2 separate regions of the Homo sapiens genome follow, and region 2 is linked to region 1. The links are contacts of gene promoters, found by promoter capture Hi-C in human tissues and cell types (Jung and others, 2019). All regions are on one chromosome and are shown on one strand. The core of a region is centred on a gene start or on the middle of the fragment in contact, and the rest is flanking DNA. Distances in the headings are between cores, read along the strand shown. Region 1 holds the start of OSBPL1A (oxysterol binding protein like 1A). Region 2 overlaps CABYR (calcium binding tyrosine phosphorylation regulated).

Region 1 (5,199 bases), core at 1-2,500:
CCCCCTATAAACTGTAGACAAAGCCCACCTAGTGGTTTAGAATTAGGGAATTAAAAGGTGGATTTTGTTACTATGCTGTAATTAAGAAATCTTCACAATTCCAGCTTGGGGTGGGGAGGGAGGGGGGTGGTTCAGAATTTATACCTATCAAACTGCTGCAAAAAATTCATTGTATCGGGGTTAGACTGCAAATACTTCTACCCCTCAAAACGAATCTGCAAATTATTTCCCAGATGCTGAGTAAAGAGGTGAGGAGGTTCCAAACTCCAAATCCAGAATGCACCTATTACAGGGCAAAGACTGAAGTTTTCAGGGAAAACACATCACCGATTTTAAAGCTGATTTAATTATATTATTAACTATTCACAGACACCTAATAGCCACATTTGCAACATTCAAGCAACCTTATTTAAGCTAAGAATATCACACTGCCCACAGTTCCATTTCACAATACCGTCTGCCTAAAAACGACAACTTGAACTGAAAACTAATACTAAATCAGAATAACCCTTTTCAATGCCTCCTGCCAATCATTAGGGCAGCGGGATAAGTGAATTGTTAAAGTCTATTGTGCAGCTGCGCTCTCATTCAGTTTCAGAATCTCCCTTGGATATTCGTTCATGCTTGTAGAACCGACCACGCGGTACATTGGGAAACGGTCACATGAACAATGCGTGACTTCCATTGTGCATCAATCCTCCTCTTGTTAGGAGGAAATTAAAAAGTCACATGGACACACGAAAGTACCGAGAAGGCACGCAGCTGAAGATCTGGTAGGGGATGCATGCGGCACCAGCATGGTCGTGGCACCCGAGTGGGAAGTGCAACAAACGCCAACATCTTGTTACTTTTAACGCCTAACTTCCTGCAGCGCTGGAGCAGCCAGCGGCCGCCGGGAAGCCGAGCTCGGCTGCAGCCCTGCGTCGCCGCGCCACGACCCGACCATCCTCTGAGACGCCCGGGACGGGAGCGCCCACCCCCAACCAGGCGCGGACAGACCTCCCGAGCGCAGCCCGGCGGGAACCCGTCAGCGCGGGAACCGGCCTCGAACTCCAGGCGTGGACAGCCGCGAGAAACTGACCTACGCGGTCACCCGGGCTCCCAGAGCTCCCGAGGCGGTGGCCACGACCCCAGGCTTCCCGTCCGCCCGCCCCACGTCGAGGAAGTGGTCGTCACCAACTCTGGCTGGCACTCCCCGAGGACGCTCGAGCCCGCGTAACGTCTGTCTCCGGGACCCGGCGCCGGGACCACGGCGGAGCGCGAGGTGGCGCCGCCCCTCCCCGCAGCCCGCCCCTGGAACGCGCATCCTCCTGGCGAGCTGGCATCCCTCCCGACACGTGACCGCAGCGGGGACACGCCCGTTCCCCGCCCACTCCCCGCCCCTGCCTGGCCTGCCCACGCCCCCGGCCCGCTCCTGTCCCGCCTGGGCCACCGGCGCTGGTTCCAGGTTTTGCCAGCTACTAGGGACGCGTAAAGCCTTCGCGCTCCTCCCACCACACCCCGAGGGAAGAAGTGGCAGGCCTTACCCGGAGACTACAAGGAACCGCCCGTGTGAGCCAGTGGAAGACTCGCGTCCCCAGGCAAAATATAAGTCCTGGGTTAATAGTCTGAAGTCTGTCATTAAGCAATAGGTTATCCAGCTGCCCAGATTTTTTTCTTTTTTGCTTTGGCTGCAACTCGACCCGTGGGAACTTAATTGGCAATGTAAATTAGACAATTTACAAAAAAACACCTCCTTTTACTTTCACCTGTGAAAGGAAGCGCTTAAAATGCCATACAGGTGTAACCATTATAGAATAGATATGCGTGAGACAAGGATTTACAAAATTTCCTCACCTCCTCTCCTCCAGATTCCATGCACAAGGCGTCTAGCTAGAGGAGTTAGCAAATAGTCTATAACGTGAAGGTTCAAACTCTAGTATAATTCCACCGTTTTTGTTTTTTTCTTTTTTTGAGGCAAGGTCTCACTCTGTCTCCCAAGCTGGAGTGTAGTGGCGCGATCTCGGCTCACTGCAGCATCGTCTTCTGGGTTCAAGCGATCCTCCGGCCTCAGCTGGACTACAGGCGGGTAATCAAGGGACTGGGACTACAGGCGCGCCCTGCCGCGCCCGGACAAGTTTTGTATTTTTAGTAGAGACAGACTCTCCCTATGTTGCCCAGGCTGGTCTCCAACTCCTGGGCCTCCCAAAGTGTTGGGATTACAGGCGTGAGTCACCCCTGCAGGCCACAGCTTTGCTTTTTAAAAGCATTTCTGCATAACTAAAAAGACAGGAAATTACGAGCATACGAAAACTGATTTCTGCTTTCCTGAATTTTCTAAATGTATTTAATGAACATGTTCTTTTGCAATGAAAAAGTAATAAATAGGTATCATTTTTAAAAGGACTGTAGTTTTTCCATCAAGTCTAGAAGCATGTATTGAGAACCTATAATAGGCCCTTTTGGTCATTGTGATATGTGTGAAACAGCATATGGCAGATCTTTTGAAATGATGTTTTTGGATACCACAAGCAATCCTGCTGGTGTATCTCAGGCTGGCATCATCTTTTATTAACAAAGCAGGCACTTTACTAGCACAATACTTCAACTGCAAAATGTGTGGTAACTAAAGCAGCTGTATTTGTCTGGAAAAGAAGAAACCTCAGGGCTTACTATCTAAGGATATTGAACCATCTTTTTTTTTTTTTTTGAGATGGAGTTTTACTCTTGTGCAGTGGTGCAATCTCAGCTCACTGCAACCTCTGCCTCCGAGGTTCAAGCGATTCTCCTGCCTCAGCCTCCTAAGTAGCTGGGACTATAGGTGCGTGCCACCATACCCGGCTAACTTTTGTATTTTTAGTAGAGATAGGGTTTCACTATGTTTGTCAGTCTGATCTCAAACTCCTGATCTCAGGTGATCCACCCACTTCAGCCTCCCAAGGTGCTGGGATTATAGGTGTGAGCCACCACACCCAGCCTTGAACCATCTTCATAGCCAAAATAAAACTACCGAAATAATGACAATAATAATTGGCTACTGAAATAATTTTCCATGATTCCATGAAAGCCTTCATTCTCTCTGTGATGATTTAATTACCTAAATTCACAACTTGCACTTTGCAACTCCCTTCTACAGTTTGCAAATGAAAAACAGATTGCAGTCAATAGGAGGATGAAGTAGTAATCACTACAGTTATCAATAAGAGAAGTTCCAATCTTGATAGCATTACTATTTATACTGTATCTTTAAAGGACTTTATTTGGTATTTCCATAAAATATGCAGAAAAGATATCTCATGGGCATTTATATTATTGACGGCTAGTACAGGTAAAATCACCATGATGGCATAACAGAATTCATTATTCTAGAACACTGTGTCTAATGGAACTTTCTGCGATGATAGAAATGTTCTATAATTCTACCTTGTCCAGTACAGTAGCCACTAGCCACATGTGGCTATTGAGTACTTGAAATGTGGCCAGTGTGACTGACGGTTTCAAGTTTTATTTAATTTAAATAGCCACATGTGGATAGCAGTTACCATATTGGGCAGTGCAGTTCTAGAATAACAAAACTATCACTAGATTGTCCCCGTCATATCATACTCTATTTTAAGAAACATTTGGCAGAAGTAGAACCTCTGGAACTAGTTAATAAATATTTTCCTTCATATTCCTTTCTGAGCTTTAGGCAGATAGATATTTTAACTTTGCAGATGCGGCATATTAAAGTAACTAGTAATATAATCCCTACATATATAAGTAGGAATTGCAATGGAAGCTCTGACTGGTTGTGAAATGGATTTGGGAGTATCTAACCCCTGGCCCTGCCATTCCCGGGCCTGCCTGACCCACATTGAAAAGTGAACCGGGTAACTTAAGACTGGGATGGGCTTCATCAGAATTGTTCATTGCCTGGTTCAGACTGGATTCACCTTGGACTCTTTTGTTTCAGGAAACTTAGGAGCCCAAATCTCTCTACTGTCATCCCCCTCCCCGCATTCCAATGACCTCCTTCAGAATGTGATCCTCTTTAGATTGTAGTACCTAATGTCTGGTCCTTGCAGTTTTGTCTCAAGCCTGAGACATCCCAGAATGCACTTAGTGCATTGCATGTTTTAAAAACACTCCCCTGGTGCCAGTGTGACTTTGAAGTGGTGCAGGAACACGCTAAAGGCTTAAGTCTCATTAAAAGGAGGATTTTATGGACTGAGACTTTGGGGAGGGCTTTGGGTAATTACTGCCTGGAATACTGAAAAGTAGGTCAGATGTCATCAGGCGAATGCAGATAAACCATTGAGTTGAGGGAAATGAATCATTCCCTTATACCTACATATGAAAGACTTTGTAGTTACTATTAACTCCAGACCATCAAAGCTATGAGGTCATTGGGAGTTTTTCTCTCTTAAAAGTGGTCTAAATTTGTTATTTGTCATTTGTGCCATTTCACTCAGTTTATTTAATAACAGGAATGAATTGGTATAGTTTCAGATATTAAATTCTTTTGGTCTAGACTTAATTTTGTACCCATCTCTCTTTTCCTGCAGGTATGACACACAGATGTCTAAGCAACTGCCTTCCAGCAGTGATTGATTTTGCTGGTTCCCCACACAAAAAGTTTGGAAGAGACCCTTATGTCTTCTGTAGAGTTTCTTGGTTGTAAGCAGCAAGCACTGGTGCTGGCTAACTTAAGCAAATAAAGAATATATCACTCAGACATCAAAGAAACAGCTGGAAATCTGGCTTGGCAAAGGCCGGATTAGGGCACTCCTGGGGATGTGGGTAGTAGGAATAGTCTATAGTTTTTCCTCAGTGCCAACACTGGGAAAGAATATGTTCCAATTATTTTCATTTTCCTATCCTTTTGTCTTTCTTCAGAAGAAGCAAAGTTGAGAGATAGTCTTTCATAGCTTTTCCCATAAGGTATGTTCTCCTTGGGCAACATTTTCAACTCAACCTTTAGCCCTTAGCTTGCTTTTTCTTTTTTTTTTTCTTTATTTTTTTTATTTTTGAGACGAGGGTCTTGCTCTGTCACCCAGGCTAGAGTACAGTGGCATGATCATGGCTCACTGCAGCCTCAACCTCTCAGGCTCAAGCAGTTCTCCCACCTCAGCCTCCCAAGTAGCTGGGACTACTGGCGCGAGCCACCATGCCCAGCTAACTTTTGTTTATTTTTTATAGAGACAGGGTCACACTATGTTGCCCAGGGTGGTCTCAAAC
Region 2 (5,352 bases), core at 2,168-4,667, 250 kb before region 1:
AGGCGGAGGGGTAAAAGGGCACTTTACTTTTCAGGGGAACAATAATAAGACAAATAGGTGATTTCTTAATAGAAACCATAGAAGCCAAAAGACAATGGAATGACATAAAGTGACCTAGAATGCCAGCCTAGAATTAATATATACCCAGGGAATATATCCTTTAAAAAACGAATGCAAAATAAAGACATTCTCAGGCAGACAAAAACTGAGAAGAATGCATTGCCTACTCTACAAGAAATGCTTTTAAAGAAGTTTATAAGCAGGGGCATGGTGGTTCATGCCTGCAATCCAAGTGCTTTGGGAGGCTGAGGTGGGAGGATCACTTGAGGCCACGAGTTTGAGACCAGCCTCAGCAACACAGTGAGACCTTGTCTCTACAGAACATTTTTTAAAAATTAGCTGGGCATGGTGGCACACACCTGTAGTCGTGGATATTCAGGAGGCTGAAGCTGTGATCACACCACTGCACTTCAGCCTAGGTGACAGTGCAAAACCATGTCTCAAAAAAAAAAAAAAAAAAAAGCCTATAGGCAAGTGAGGAATACAAGGGAACTTCCTAAATCTAGGAATGGGTACACACACAAAAACTTACAGATGATCCAATTGACCCATTGTACCCAATGGTGAATATTGAATGCCTTCCCCTCAAGATTGGGACCAGGACAAAGATCTCCAATGTTACGATTTCTATTTAGCTTTGTACTGTAGGTTCTAATCAGTGCCATAAGGCAAACAAATTTTTTTAAAAAAGGAAAGGCATATTAAGAAATAAAACTATTCACAGATGACATGACTATGATGTAGGAAATCGAAAATAATCCACTTCTTTTTAATCAGCTTTATTCTATAGAGGAGAGGGTATATGGGACACAGCCCAGATGTTTATGGGCAGAAGGTTTAAAAAAGTACAGATACATTATCTAGTAGCTGTAAATCTTAAGATAATGAATTCAACAAGTACCCAGAGAGAAAATGGGTATTATGGATGTCATAGAATAAAAAACAGATATGGTATCTAAAGAGCAGCATTTAACACAATCCCCCTCTGTCATGTTTCTTTACGACTTCTAATTTATGCCTCATATCAGTTAGGAAAGCTTTCAGCTGCAAGTAACAGCAAATCAATTAAGAGTAACTTTAAGAAAACAACATATCTGAAAAGGTGTTCATTCTGCTCCTAATATAATTTAATAATAAGTATCACATATCTAGGCACTCTGCTGTGTCATTCTTAGGATGTTTTACATGTCCCCTCATGCTACTGCTCCAGGTGTTATGCCTGTGTTTACATCAGGAAGGAGGAGAAAGTGGTGGCAGTGGTGACATTTGTTCCTTTGATTAAGAAAGGAACACTTTTGCAAGTTTTCCAGCAGATTTCCGCTTCTGTCCCACAGGCCAAAGGAGGCTGATACAATTTATGGTAAGGGAGATCAGAATTGTCCCATGCATTGCAGGACATCTAGCATCCCTGATCCTGCCTCCTAAAATACTAATGCCTCCCAGGTATTGAAATAAATAAAAATGTCCCCTCTACATCTACGAATACTCTCAGTGGAAGGGGGATACTACTACCCCTTGAGAACCAGTGTGCCATTAGTGGTTTATCACCTGGGGCTGGGTACATTGCTGCCACTAATCTAGCTAAGATTATCTTAGCGAAGAATAAGGGAGGGAATGTCTGCTATTCCACCCACCCTGCTTTAATTCTTTGCCCTTAAGTGAAGTTGGGAGAGATGAGGTTTGGTAAAAATGTGGGGAGGGAGGATGTGTTGGGAGTGATGGTGTGTCTGGAATTGGTGGGTTCTTGGTCTCACTGACTTTAAGAATGAAGCCGCGGACCCTCACGGTGAGTTACAGCTCCTAAGGTGGCACGTCTGGAGTTTGCTCCTTCTGACGTTCGGATGTGTTCGGAGTTTCTTCCTTCTGGTGGGTTCGTGGTCTCGCTGGCTCAGGAGTGAAGCTGCAGACCTTCATGGTGAGTGTTACAGCTCTTAAGGCAGCACGTCTGGAGTTGTTTGTTCCTCCCGGTGGGCTCGTGGTCTTGCTGGCTTCAGGAGTGAAGCTGCAGACCTTCGAGGTGAGTGTTACAGCTCATAAAAGCAGTGTGGACCCAAAGAGTGAGCAGTGGCAAAATTTATTGCAAAGAGGAAAAACAAAGCTTCCACAGTGTGGAAGGGGACTTGAGCGGGTTGCCACTGCTGGCTCGAACAGCCTGCTTTTATTGTCTTATCTGGCCCCACCCACATCCTGCTGATTGGTAGAGCGGAGTAGTCTGTTTTGACAGGGTGCTGATTGGTGCGTTTACAATCCCTGAGCTAGACATAAAGGTTCTCCATGTCCCCACCAGATTAGATAGATACAGAGTGTGGACACAAAGGTTCTCCAAGGCCCCACCAGAGTAGCTAGATACAGAGTGTCGATTGGTGCATTCACAAACCCTGAGCTAGACACAGGGTGCTGATTGGTGCGTTTACAAACCTTGAGCTAGATACAGAGTGCCGATTGGTGTATTTACAATCCCTGAGCTAGACATAAAGGTTCTCTACGGCCCCACCAGAGTATCTAGATACAGAGTGTTGATTGGTGCATTCACAGACCCTGAGCTAGACACAGGGTGCTGATTGGTGTTTACAAACCTTGAGCTAGATAGAGAGTGCCGATTGGTGTACTTACAATCCCTGGGCTAGACATAAAGGTTCTCCACGTCCCCACCAGACTCAGGAGTCCAGCTGGCTTCACCCAGTGGATCCTGCACTGGGGACTGCAGGTGGAGCTGCCTGCCAGTCCTGGTGCCGTGCGCCTGCACTCCTCAGCCCTTGGGTGGTCGATGGGACTGGGTGCTGTGGAGCAGGGGGCGGTGCTCATCGGGGAGGCTCGGGCCGCACAGGAGTCCACGGAGTGGGTGGGAGGCTCAGGCATGGCGGGCTGCAGGTCCCGAGCCCTGCCCCGCAGGAAGGCAGCTAAGGCCCGGCGAGAAATCAAGCACAGCGCCGGTGGGCTGGCACTGCTGGGGGACCCAGTACACCCTATGCAGCCACTGGCCTGGGTGCTAAGCCCCTCATTGCCCGGGGCTGGCAGGGCCGGCCCGCTGCTCGGAATGCGGGGCCCGCCAAGCCCATGCCCACTCGGAACTCCAGCTGGCCCGCAAGCGCGGCGCGCAGCCCCGGTTCCCGCTGGCGCCTCTCCCTCCACACCTGCCTGCAAGCTGAGGGAGCCGGCTCTGGCCTTGGCCAGCCCAGAAAGGGGCTCCCACAGTGCAGCGGTGGGCTGAAGGGCTCAAGTGCCGCCAAAGTGGGAGCCCAGGCAGAGGAGGCGCCAAGAGCGAGCAAGGGCTCTGAGGACTGCAGCACGCTGTCACTTCTCAATGGGGTGAGGGAGACAGAAATAGACCCGGAAGAGAAGAGGGAAGGACAAAGCCAAAGAGATGCCAAACTGCATTTGGTGTTGCTCACTGTGGCCCAGAGAAGTTTGATGGCAGTGCTGGAGAACCAAGAGGAGAAGCAAGGCAAAGGGGCATGGCGTGGGAGAGATTACCTAGGATAGGCTGAATGGCTGTTCTCCCTCAAACTGGCCATGCCCTCTTTTGCTTTCCACCTCCTACAGTCCAAATTACTAGCCACTTTCACACGTTTTCCTTATTTCTAAAGCTTAACCAAAATTACCTAAAAGCCACTGTACCCCATACATATTTCAGTCACTGTGCTGACTACATTGTCATATAATCAATCATCTGCCTGTATCCTTAATCAGAATGAGATCTTTAGGAAGTCTTATTCCTCTTTGATAGATGGTGCAACTAATGTTTGTTGAATGAAGAAAGAATGGATGGAAGGGCAAGGAGGAAGAGGGGAGAAACTAAACCACCTACTTTATAGTCTCTGGTATTCTCATTCCAATCAGTTCAATACAGACTAGTTGGAATCTTTTGTTTTAAATTCTTAAAAGATTACGTACCATACATATTCCTGACTTTAAGCACTCTCTTTGAGCTTCCCACCTCCCACCTCCAGTTTTTTTGTTTTTTTGTTTTTTGTTTTTTTTTTTTTTTGAGACGGAGTCTCACTCTGGCCCCAGGCTGGAGTGCAGTAGTGAGATCTCAGCTCACTGCAAGCTCCGCCTCCCGGGTTCACGCCATTCTCCTGCCTCAGCCTCCCGAATAGCTGGGACTACAGGCGCCCGCCACCACGCCCGGCTAATTTTTTGTATTTTTAGTAGAGACAGGGTTTCACCGTGTTAGCCAGGATGGCCCACCTCCAATTCTTATACAGCCTCTCGTATCTCTTGTTAGGCCCTGCTGCTTATACACTTGTGGTCTTTGATACCTTTCAGATTTCCCATTCCATGCCAGAATATGTCCTTTTCCTTATGCTTCTTGGGCAGTTATGTACTTCAGTACCCTGAATCTCCATGAGTTGTGCCTATTTAAAAAAATACCATATGCTTGGAATTTATCTCTTTATCTTACTGGTTTCATGGAAAATCAGGATTCTGCAATGAATTTTAAAGTTAGCCAATTTGAGTCATTTTATTATACTTAAAAAGGAACTTTTTTACAAGAAGGAATGCCTTTAGTTATGTTCCTAATTCTCAGTGTGTATAGTTTTGTCAGCTTAAGTAGAACCAGATCACCAAAGTCATAGTGGGTTAATCTTCATAAGGTTGAAAGATCAACCTTTAGCAAACCTAGTTTGCAACTTGAAGAAATTCTGTCTTATACAACCGACATAATCTCAAGGTTACAAGTCAGCGACTGTTGTAAGTATTTAAAGCTAACCTTAAAACATTAGAGAAAAGCTTTTTACCCTTCTTAATAAACAGATAATGACATGAACTCAATATAGATTTACATTATATGTGTATAGTAACTAGTAAGTATATATTTGCCAGCATTCTTTCATGTATTCCAAACAAAGCCAAATGGTTGATCTAGTGTTGGCTTTTTTTTTTTTTTTTTTTAAAGACAGAGTCTAGCTTTGTTGCCCAAGCTGGAGTGCAGTGGCACAATCTCAGCTCACTGCAACCTCTACCTCCCGGGCTCAAGCAATTCTCCTGCCTCAGCTTCCTGAGTACCTGGGATTACAGGCATGTGCCACTGTGTCTGGCTTATTTTTGTATTTTTAGTAGAGACAGAATTTCACTATGTTGGCTGGGCTGGTCTCGAACTCCTGGCCTCAAGTGATCTGCCTGCCTCAGCCTCCCAAAGTGCTGGGATTATACGCATGAGCCATCGTGCCTGACCTAGTGTTTGCATTTGCAAAAACACTATAAAAGTTTAAGGCATCTGGTCTCAGTTTTTAATTATGAAAAAGTCCATAAGTATATAACACACACATATAAAGAAAAAACATCCTG

Evidence for each region. Contacts are between HindIII fragments. The study calls those that stand out against the background at their distance.
Region 2: a contact is called between a fragment that was not itself captured here and the fragment with the promoter of OSBPL1A in region 1, in 1 of the 25 tissues and cell types used here (dorsolateral prefrontal cortex).

The regions. Positions count from the first base shown.
Region 1 is chr18:24,396,574-24,401,772 of GRCh38, forward strand. OSBPL1A (oxysterol binding protein like 1A) reads right to left here and starts at 1,251. Exons shown (of 28, transcript NM_080597.4): 1 at 1,082-1,251. LOC124904268 (a long non-coding RNA gene) reads left to right here. Exons shown (of 3, transcript XR_007066314.1): 3 at 4,527-5,199. RefSeq lists a silencer at 1,185-1,314. The HindIII fragment of the contact is 24,691 bases long and covers 1-5,199 here.
Region 2 is chr18:24,146,751-24,152,102 of GRCh38, forward strand. All of the region lies in intron 3 of CABYR (calcium binding tyrosine phosphorylation regulated), which reads left to right. Among named protein-coding and RNA genes, the nearest start is that of CABYR, 10 kb to the left of the region's middle. The HindIII fragment of the contact is 3,580 bases long and covers 1,628-5,207 here.